Linked DNA regions of Homo sapiens: region 1 is linked to region 2. The links are contacts of gene promoters, found by promoter capture Hi-C in blood cells and fetal thymus (Javierre and others, 2016). All regions are on one chromosome and are shown on one strand. The core of a region is centred on a gene start or on the middle of the fragment in contact, and the rest is flanking DNA. Distances in the headings are between cores, read along the strand shown. Region 1 overlaps PHF12 (PHD finger protein 12). Region 2 holds the start of SUPT6H (SPT6 homolog, histone chaperone and transcription elongation factor).

Region 1 (4,296 bases), core at 1,605-4,104, 270 kb after region 2:
CCTTTGAGGCAGTAGGAAAAGCCTAGCTAGGTTTGCATGTTCCTAAACTCCTATTGTGGCCAGTCCTGCAGGACTGCTAGGGTTGTCTCCTCCAAAATGCCTAAGTCAGCATCACTCATAATAACCTAAGGAGTGACCATCCCTTCCCACACCTTAGAGAGAGAAGCCAAATCCAGAGCTATTAACACTGGGTTTGTAGGGAAAGGTATAATAAAATAACTGAGAGGTCCTCCACACTGTTTTCTTAAAGCCTGTTAGTGTAGAGCCAAGCTTTTCTAACTGCTGTTCAAAGCCCTGTCACATGGTCCCACCGTTCCATCTTCCCAGACCCCTTCAGGTGCTCTTCCCACTATTCAAATGGAAGACTTCCTATTTCTTCCTCTAGAATACTCTTCCTTTAGAAAGCTATGCCTGTCAAAACTCTATTCATCCTTTCATACCTGCCTCAATCAGCTGTGATGGATTAAAGACAGCTGCAAATTATCTGCTCTGCCTCCCATCCACAGGTAGTCCCTTTCCCTCCTCTTGAATTGTGCTTGTCTTATGACTTGCTTTGACCACAGAATGCAGCAGAGGTGACAATGTTGCAACTTCCAAAGCTTGGCCTTAAGAGATCTGCAGATTCTATTTTTTAAGAAATATGCTTGGAAAGTTCCATCTCAGAGCCCTGCTGTCATGCTATGAGAGAGGACATGGAGGAGACAAGGTATTCCAATCAACAGTTTTGGGCTGGGCGTGGTGGCTCACACCTGGAATCCCAGCACTTTGGGAGGCCGAGGCTGGTGGATCACTCGAGATCAGGAGTTCAAGACCAGCCTGGCCAACATGGCGAAACCCCATCTCTACTAAAAATATAAAAATTAGCCAAATATGGTGGCACATGCCTGTAATCCCAGCTATTTGGGAGGCTGAGGCAGAAGAATTGCTTGAATTTGGGAGGTGGAGGTTGCAGTGAACCAAGATCACACCACTGCACTCTAGCCTGGGCAACAGAGTGAAACTCCATCTTGAGAAAACAAAAAACCAGCTTCAGCTGAACTCCAAGCCAACACGCAGCAGCAACTACTGCTATGTGAGTGAGTCATCTTGGACTTACCAGTTCAGTGAAGCCTCCAAATGACTGCAGTCCCAGCCAACATCATGTGAAACAGAAAAACCACCCAGCAGAGCCCAGGCAACCCTCAGAACTGTGAGAGATAATAATGAGTTTCTGTACCAGGCCAATGAGTTTTGGCGTAGTTTGTTATGCAACAATAGATAACCAAACAGCTTTTCCATGAGTTCATATTACTCCTGTATCTTGGACCTCTTGCTGCATGGGTTAGTTCTCTTTTGGCACTTCTCATGCTTTGCCCATTTCAGCAGTTCTCTTACTTATTTTATTAGAGGGACTAGGACAATGATTGGATCTCTTCCCTCCTTGTATTTTTATAATACAGAGGTTGTGCACACAGCAGATCACCTGAGATTGGAAGTTCAAGACCAGCCTGGCTAACACGGTGAAACCCCATCTCTATTACAAATACAAAAATTAGCTGGGCGTGGTGGTGGGCACCTGTAATCCCAGCTACTTGGGAGGCTGAGGCAGGAGAATCCTTTGAACTCGGGAGGCGGAAGTTGCAGTGAGCCAAGATTATGTCATTGCACTCCAGCCTGCGTGACAAAACTCCATCTCAAAACAAACAAACAAACAAACAAACCAAACCAAAAAACAGGCCAGGCATGGTGGCTTACACTTGTAATCCCAGCACTTTGGGAGGCCGAGGCAGGCAGAACACGACGTCAGGAGTTTGAGAACAGCCTGGCCAACATGGTGAAACCCTGTCTCTACTAATAATACAAAAATTAGCCGGGTGTAGTGGCACGCGCCTGTAGTCCCAGCTACTCAGGAGGCCGAGGCAGGAGAATCGCTTGAACCTGGGAAGTGGAGGTTGCAGTGAGCCGAGACAGTGCCACTGCACTCCAGCCTGGGCGACAGAGTGAGACTCTGTCTCAAAAACAAAACAACAACAACAACAACAAAAACCACATTTATGCTTAAGAAATTCCTACCATTGAGTTCTTGGCTAAGTCACCTACTTGGAATGGTATGCAGGAAATTTTTCTTCAAATAATGGGGGAAATGGTAAAAAAAAAAAAAAATTGAGTATTTTTTTTTGAGATGGAGTTTTGCTCTTGTTGCCCAGGCTGGAGTGCAATGGTGCGATCTTGGCTCACTGCAACCTCCGCCTCCCATGTTCAAGCAATTCTCCCGCCTCAGCCTCCTGAGTAGCTAGGATTACAAGCATGCGCCACCATGCCTGGCAAATTTTTTAGTATTTTTAGTAGAGATGGGGTTTCTCCATGTTGGTCAGACTGGTCTTGAACTCCTGACCTCAGGTGATCCACCAACCTCGGCCTCCCAAAGTGCTGGGTGTACAGGCGTGAGCCACTGTGCCCAGCCAAACTTGAGTATCTCAGAGCTTAAAGCTATGCTGTTTTACCATTTCTACATAAAATAGCACTTGACTTGGCAAATTTTCTTAGCTCCCTGTTTCCCCAGAGCCCCAAGCTTACATGTCAGATGCCCACCAAGGCTTCACAGCTCATTACTTCCCTTCCTCCCTGTTTCCTTAGTGAAATCTCAGGAGGATGCTTACCAGGAATCAGGAAACTGGAAAAACAATGGCCTGCTGGGACAGATCTCCAAGCCCTAGAGGACCACAGGTGAATGTCACCTGTAAGTCTCCGCTCATTCTAGCCAATGTAATTCTACAAAAGGCCACATCTAAACTACTGAAATGCATGCAAGTAATTTTCAAAGGCCTACAGACTCTGCTATGCTTCAGTAGCTGTCCTATCAAAATTAACCCTGAAGGGTGTCACTTCTGATTCTGTTTCTCATCATTTCTGTTCATCTGCCCACTGGCTTTGTACCAAGATATCCTACATCAAACATTTAAAACATTTAAAGTAGAGAAGATAAGACCCCTGTGGCCAGAACCCTCTTCTTTCTCCAGCTCAATCAGTTGGCCGGCTCCCTACACAGACCATACTGTTTCTCATCTGTGTCTCTGCTCACTCCAGGGCTGCTACCCACAACTACACCACTCTTCCCTAACTACTTCACCTGGTAAGCTCTTTATCTTTTGAGACTCAAGTCACGTATTCTTTCCAGGAAGCTTTCTCTGAAAGTCTCTGGTTCCACAGAGCACTTCTGCACCACACTGTATTCAAACCATTACATGTCTGAATCCCCTTCTCCATGCCTCATTTGCCTTTGTACCTCCACACCCTGTACAATGCCTGGCATGTAGTAAGTACTCAATAAAGCTTTAAAGAACTGGGGAACACTAAGGAATGGGCTTCTAGGAAGTGAGTGTAATCCTTCAAAGCTATGAGGGGAGGTAATGCAATGGGGCAGGCAACTGTTTTGTGGGTTAAATCACACATGAAATTACTTATGTTTTCTAAGTTACTACACAATGAGACAGAAGAGGAGTCCAAGTCCATACTGGCAAGCCTGTACTTACTGAACCATCCCACCTCTACTCATTTTAATCTTCTTTAAACAATTTGATTTTCAATATCGTTTATCTTAACACAAGGTAAAATGCTTAAACTTGTATTAAGAGGCTCTCAGAAGTAGCATCTTGCTAGTTTCTAAAGGATCACTTTTAGAGTTACCAAGTTTAAGAACACACTTCTGGCCGGGTGCAGTAGCTCATGCCTGTAATACCAGCACTTTGTGAGGCCGAGGTGGGTGGATTGCTTGAGCCCAGGAGTTCAAGACCAGCCTGGGCGACATGGTGAAACCCCACCTCTACTAAAAATACAAAAAATTAGCCAGGTGAGGCGGCATGAGCCTATAGCCCCAGCTACTTGTGGGGCTGAGGTGAGAGGATCACTTGAGCCTGGGAGGTAGAGCCGTGATCGTGCCACTGCACTCCAGTTTGGGCAACAGAGTGAGACCCTGTCTCAAAAATAACAACAACAAAAAACAAACAAACAAAACCACACATTCCTCAGAACTCTAGATAATGACCACAGGCTCCCTTTGTTAAGCCTGCCCTAAAGTATGGATAGGGGCTATGAATTTAGGGAGTAGTCCAGGGAAACCCAAGCATTGTCTCCCAGATGAAGACAAAACATTTAAAAGACTGAGGCCATCATTCCTTTTTTTTTTTTTTTTTGAGACGGAGTCTTGCTCAGTTGCCCAGGCTGGAGTGCAGTGGCGCGATCTTGGCTCACTGCAACCTCTGCCTCCAGGGTTCAAGCGATTCCCTTGCCTCAGCCTCCCGAGTAGCTGGGATTACA
Region 2 (4,099 bases), core at 116-2,615:
AGATGCCTCTCACATCTCACTAGCTGACCTTCATTCTTTTTTTTTAACTTTATCTTTTTTTTTCAGGCAGATAAGACTTTCTTTTTTTAGTCTGTTTTTATTATATTGTAATTTTCTTGACTGATTATCACCACCGAATCTCCTGTATGTAGTACAATTCTAGCCATGTAGTAGGAACTCATTAAGACCTATGCTGAATGAATCCACAAATAATTTATTACTAAACATTTTAATTTCAAACGCTAAAAAAAAAAAAAAAAAAAAGCAGTTTTCTCTGCAATTCCTGTCACTGCTCCAAGTTTCTTACAAGAAGGAGGTTAAGGTTTGGGTAGAAGGGGGCCAAAGATGGAAACTGAGGAGCAAGTGTAAGATGCAGAAGAGCTGGAAGACAAAGGGTTGTAGTCAACGAGTGAGCTCTTGGAGTTTAAAGTTTCACAGACAGTACTTACTGTAACTTTAAAATTTCAGACACAGCACTTACTGTAATTTTCTTGTCTCTAAAGCAGGCTTTGAACCTGGATAGATTTGGATAGAACCCCGACTTTGTCATTTGCTAACTGCAAGGCTTTGAATAAACGATTTAATTTCTCTGCGTCTGTTTCCTCATCTGTGAAATGAGGATAACAATACTGTCCACCTTACAACAATGTTAATAATCGGAAAAAGGACATAGGTAACGTGCCTGGCCTGTAGCTCACCAAATATTAGGTGGTGTTGCGATTAAGATGCCTTAGAACAATTCAGTTCTCCGACTCTCTAGACCTGAGGAACCTTCCCAGGGAACCCCTAACTTTCCCAGACCACACTGTCAGATATTCTATAGGCCCCGCCCCTCCAGAGCCTCCGAGTCCTCCCTAGCCCACCCGAGCCCGGTCCCCAGCATTACCTGACCCATAGCGCACGTCGTGTGAGTGCAGTCGGACGTTGTGGCGCGTATTGAGTAGCTTCACCACGGAGCCGCAAGTAACGACACCCAGGCTGGACGCTCCCACAGCGCTCCACAAACCCCCCAACAACAGCAGAGGTACTACAGCCATCCTAACTGTATCGCGGAGCCCCAAATCTTCGAAGAAAACTCGGCCCCTCCCCGGAACCGGAAGCTAATGGCGAAACCACGGAGAGAAGGAAGTGAAGAAGCCCGAGTCTGATCTTTATGGTTTATTTGACTAGAGCGGCCTGAGAAACCGGCTGAGCCTGGTTACTTACGATACTCTCGCTCTGTTCCAGGGGCTCAGTGACAGCTGCCTTCCTGAGCCGCTTCGGTTACCTTTCGCACCCACGAGACGAAAGCTTCCGAGAGCGGGAGAGAGAACAAGAAATGGCCCGCCCACTCCCGGTGACAGGGAGCCGGAAATGACGTAGCACGTTGACGCAGCAGCGGCGGCGGTGGCGGCGGAGGGGCCGTGCGGTGGGTCCGTACTATCTTTTCCCAGTCTCGGTTCGACGACTCCATTTTCCTCGGTGGGGGCTTAGCGCACTGGAGGAGCGGCGGGCTTCAGACAGGTAAAGTTCCGACTGGAGAGCGTGTTTCTCGCAGGAGTCAGGTGGGGAACCGGGCTCCTAGGGCCTGGTCACGTAAGGGAAGAGGCAGTGGGGAGCCGTATGCGGGAAGAAGGGGGAGCCTGGCCTTCCCTGCTCTATGGGGGGAAGGGGGAGGAAAGCGCTGTAGTTGCTCAGAGTCCGAAAGCTTTTCCCAGCCCAGTGACACCCGGAACCCGTGAATCGGGTGGCACGTTGAATCAACAGGCTTCCTGGCATCCCGTCCTTCTCTCCGCAGGTTTTTAAAACTGGGCCACGCAAAAGGATTGGGGATGGAAGGGACCTGGGGCTTCTGAGCCAGGATCAGGTGATCGAGTTGTTTGTTCTGGGGATATGAATCCTGTGGAGCTTTCAGCAGCTCGGCCATCAGGCTAGAGGGCGATGCCAAATTCCAGCTCTTTACATATTGCTGAATAATACAAATAGAACTTTTTGTAGATGGTTGCATCCTTCATCCCTTTCTAAAGATCGAAGGTCTTGTAGAAGTCCTAAAGCCCGTCCATTCTCTATAGATTCATTTCCTCAAACGTTTGCCAGAGGCCTATCATGAACATCAAAATTAGTTATTAAGTCAAAACTCCATCTTCTAGTTTCTACCTTTCTCCTCAGGCACTCCTTTGAACCAGCTGGAGAAGTTAATTTTCCTGGGTTGTTGCAAGAACTGATACTTATTTCAGAGGGCTAAGATCTCTGAAAATACTTCCGTGGAAATTCACTGTAATATCAAAAGTAACAAGGGTGTATGAAGCTACATCATTAATGAGCATTAGGGAGTGTAAACAATATTGAATTTGATTAATTTCTTCGGAAAAATGTCTGGTTCCACTGTTTATCTGGAAGTTACCAGTTTGTAAGTCTTCAGTGTTTTGATTACAGAAACATAACTGCTCTTCCATCAGCTGTGAATTTAGAGCCCTTTTTTACGAGTAATGTCCCTTTCACCAGTACAAGTACATTTTTATTCACTTGGCTTGTGTGGCTGCTAGATTGGATTAGCATAGCCTTGCAACTCTAGGAGGTTTTAACTTCATCAGGAGATTAATTACATCAGAAAGTGGTACCGTCTGGAGAGGCTTAGTCAAATTTTACAGTTCTTCCTCTGAAAGCCTACCTAGTGTGGTGGAAACATGATCTTTGTAGGCAAATACGTTTGCCCTGATTCTATATTCTTGACCTTAATAAATGGCACTACCATCAGTCCTGCCTGTAATCCTTGTCTTCCTTCCTGTCCACTATTTCCCAATAAAATCAGTCACCAAATCCTGTCTCTCCCTGAAACTGTTCCCATCAGCATACAAATTATGTTCTGGTATCCTTCACATCCCTCTCCAATTACCATGCCAATTTTTTAAATTTCCATTCATAGATTTCTACCTGTACCAACTCAGCTTTCTCAACTTTCATTCACTCTTCATTTTATACCAATCTGGCTTCTCTTCTGCCCACTCCATTTTTTTTTTTTTTTTTGTGGAGACAGGGTCTTGCTCTGTTGCCCAGGTTGGAGTGCAGTGGCCCCATCATAGCTCACTGCCACCTGGAACTCCTGAGCTCAAGCAGTCCTCCTGAGGCAGCTTCTAGTAATCAAGTGCCACCACATCTACTTTGCCCACTCCATTGAAGTTGCTCTTATCAAGGTCACCAGTGACTTCTATGTTGCCAAATCCAATGGATACTTTGTTCTCATATTCCTCTGTCTCTGCAATATTCAACATAGTTACTCCTGCCTCCAAACTTTCATCTTGGCTTTATTGACATTTCACTCTTGGATTTTCTCCATTTCTCCGGCTGTTCCTTCTGAGTCTCATTTGCTAGCAACTTTTGCTCTCTATCTAATGTCTAAATGCTGGGGCTGGTCGCAGTGGCTCATGCCTATAATCCCAGCACTTTGGGAGGTCGAGGTGGGCAGATCACTTGAGGTCAGGAGTTCACAACCAGCCTGGCCAGCATGGTGAAACCCCATCTCTACTAAAAATACAAAAACTAGCCGGGCGTGGCGACACGCCTGTAATCCCAGCTACTTGGGAGGCTGAGGCAGGAGAATCACTTGAACCAGGGAGGCAGAGGTGCAGTGAGCAGAGATCATGCCACTGCACTCCAGCATGGGCAACAGAACAAAACTCCGTCTCAAAATATATGTATATCTACATATGTTGGAATTCTCACAGGAATCCCGAGCCTTCTACATGCTTCCCTTTAGGTAACCCAGCCCCATGGCTTTAATTACCACCTGAAAGTTGGCAACTCCAAAGTTTAAATCTCTAGTCCAGCCCTCTCCTCTATGTTGCAGAATCACGCGTCAAAAATGCCTGTTTAATTATCTCCATTTGGATATTTCTTAGGCACCCAAAGCTAACATAACCAAAAGAAAGTTTTGGTTTTCTCATCATTGCAAACCTTATCCTCCCGTTTCACTGAGTGGTGCTCCTATCCGCAGGGTTACCAAAGATAGACCTCTGAGAATCATCTTTGTTCTTCTCCTTTACTACTCCTCTTCCCCAGTCTTTCAGTAAGTCTTGTCACTTCCACTTGCAGAATGTTTTTGTAATCTGTCTTCTATTCT

The links. Contacts are between HindIII fragments. The CHiCAGO score rates a contact against its expected background, and 5 or more counts as called.
Region 1: a fragment that was not itself captured here is called in contact with the fragment with the promoter of SUPT6H in region 2 in 1 of 17 cell types (activated CD4 T cells); the score reaches 5.8 in activated CD4 T cells.

Annotation. Positions count from the first base shown.
Region 1 is chr17:28,927,102-28,931,397 of GRCh38, forward strand. The region is part of intron 2 of PHF12 (PHD finger protein 12); the gene reads right to left. The region is part of intron 1 of LOC101927018 (a long non-coding RNA gene); the gene reads left to right. Among named protein-coding and RNA genes, the nearest start is that of PHF12, 22 kb to the right of the region's middle. The HindIII fragment of the contact is 610 bases long and covers 2,550-3,159 here.
Region 2 is chr17:28,660,840-28,664,938 of GRCh38, forward strand. SUPT6H (SPT6 homolog, histone chaperone and transcription elongation factor) reads left to right here and starts at 1,366. Exons shown (of 37, transcript NM_003170.5): 1 at 1,366-1,503. It overlaps SDF2 (stromal cell derived factor 2), which reads right to left and starts at 1,067. Exons shown (of 3, transcript NM_006923.4): 1 at 887-1,067. The coding sequence starts at 1,037. RefSeq lists enhancers at 754-1,953, 1,315-1,384, 1,482-2,156. The HindIII fragment of the contact is 397 bases long and covers 1,289-1,685 here.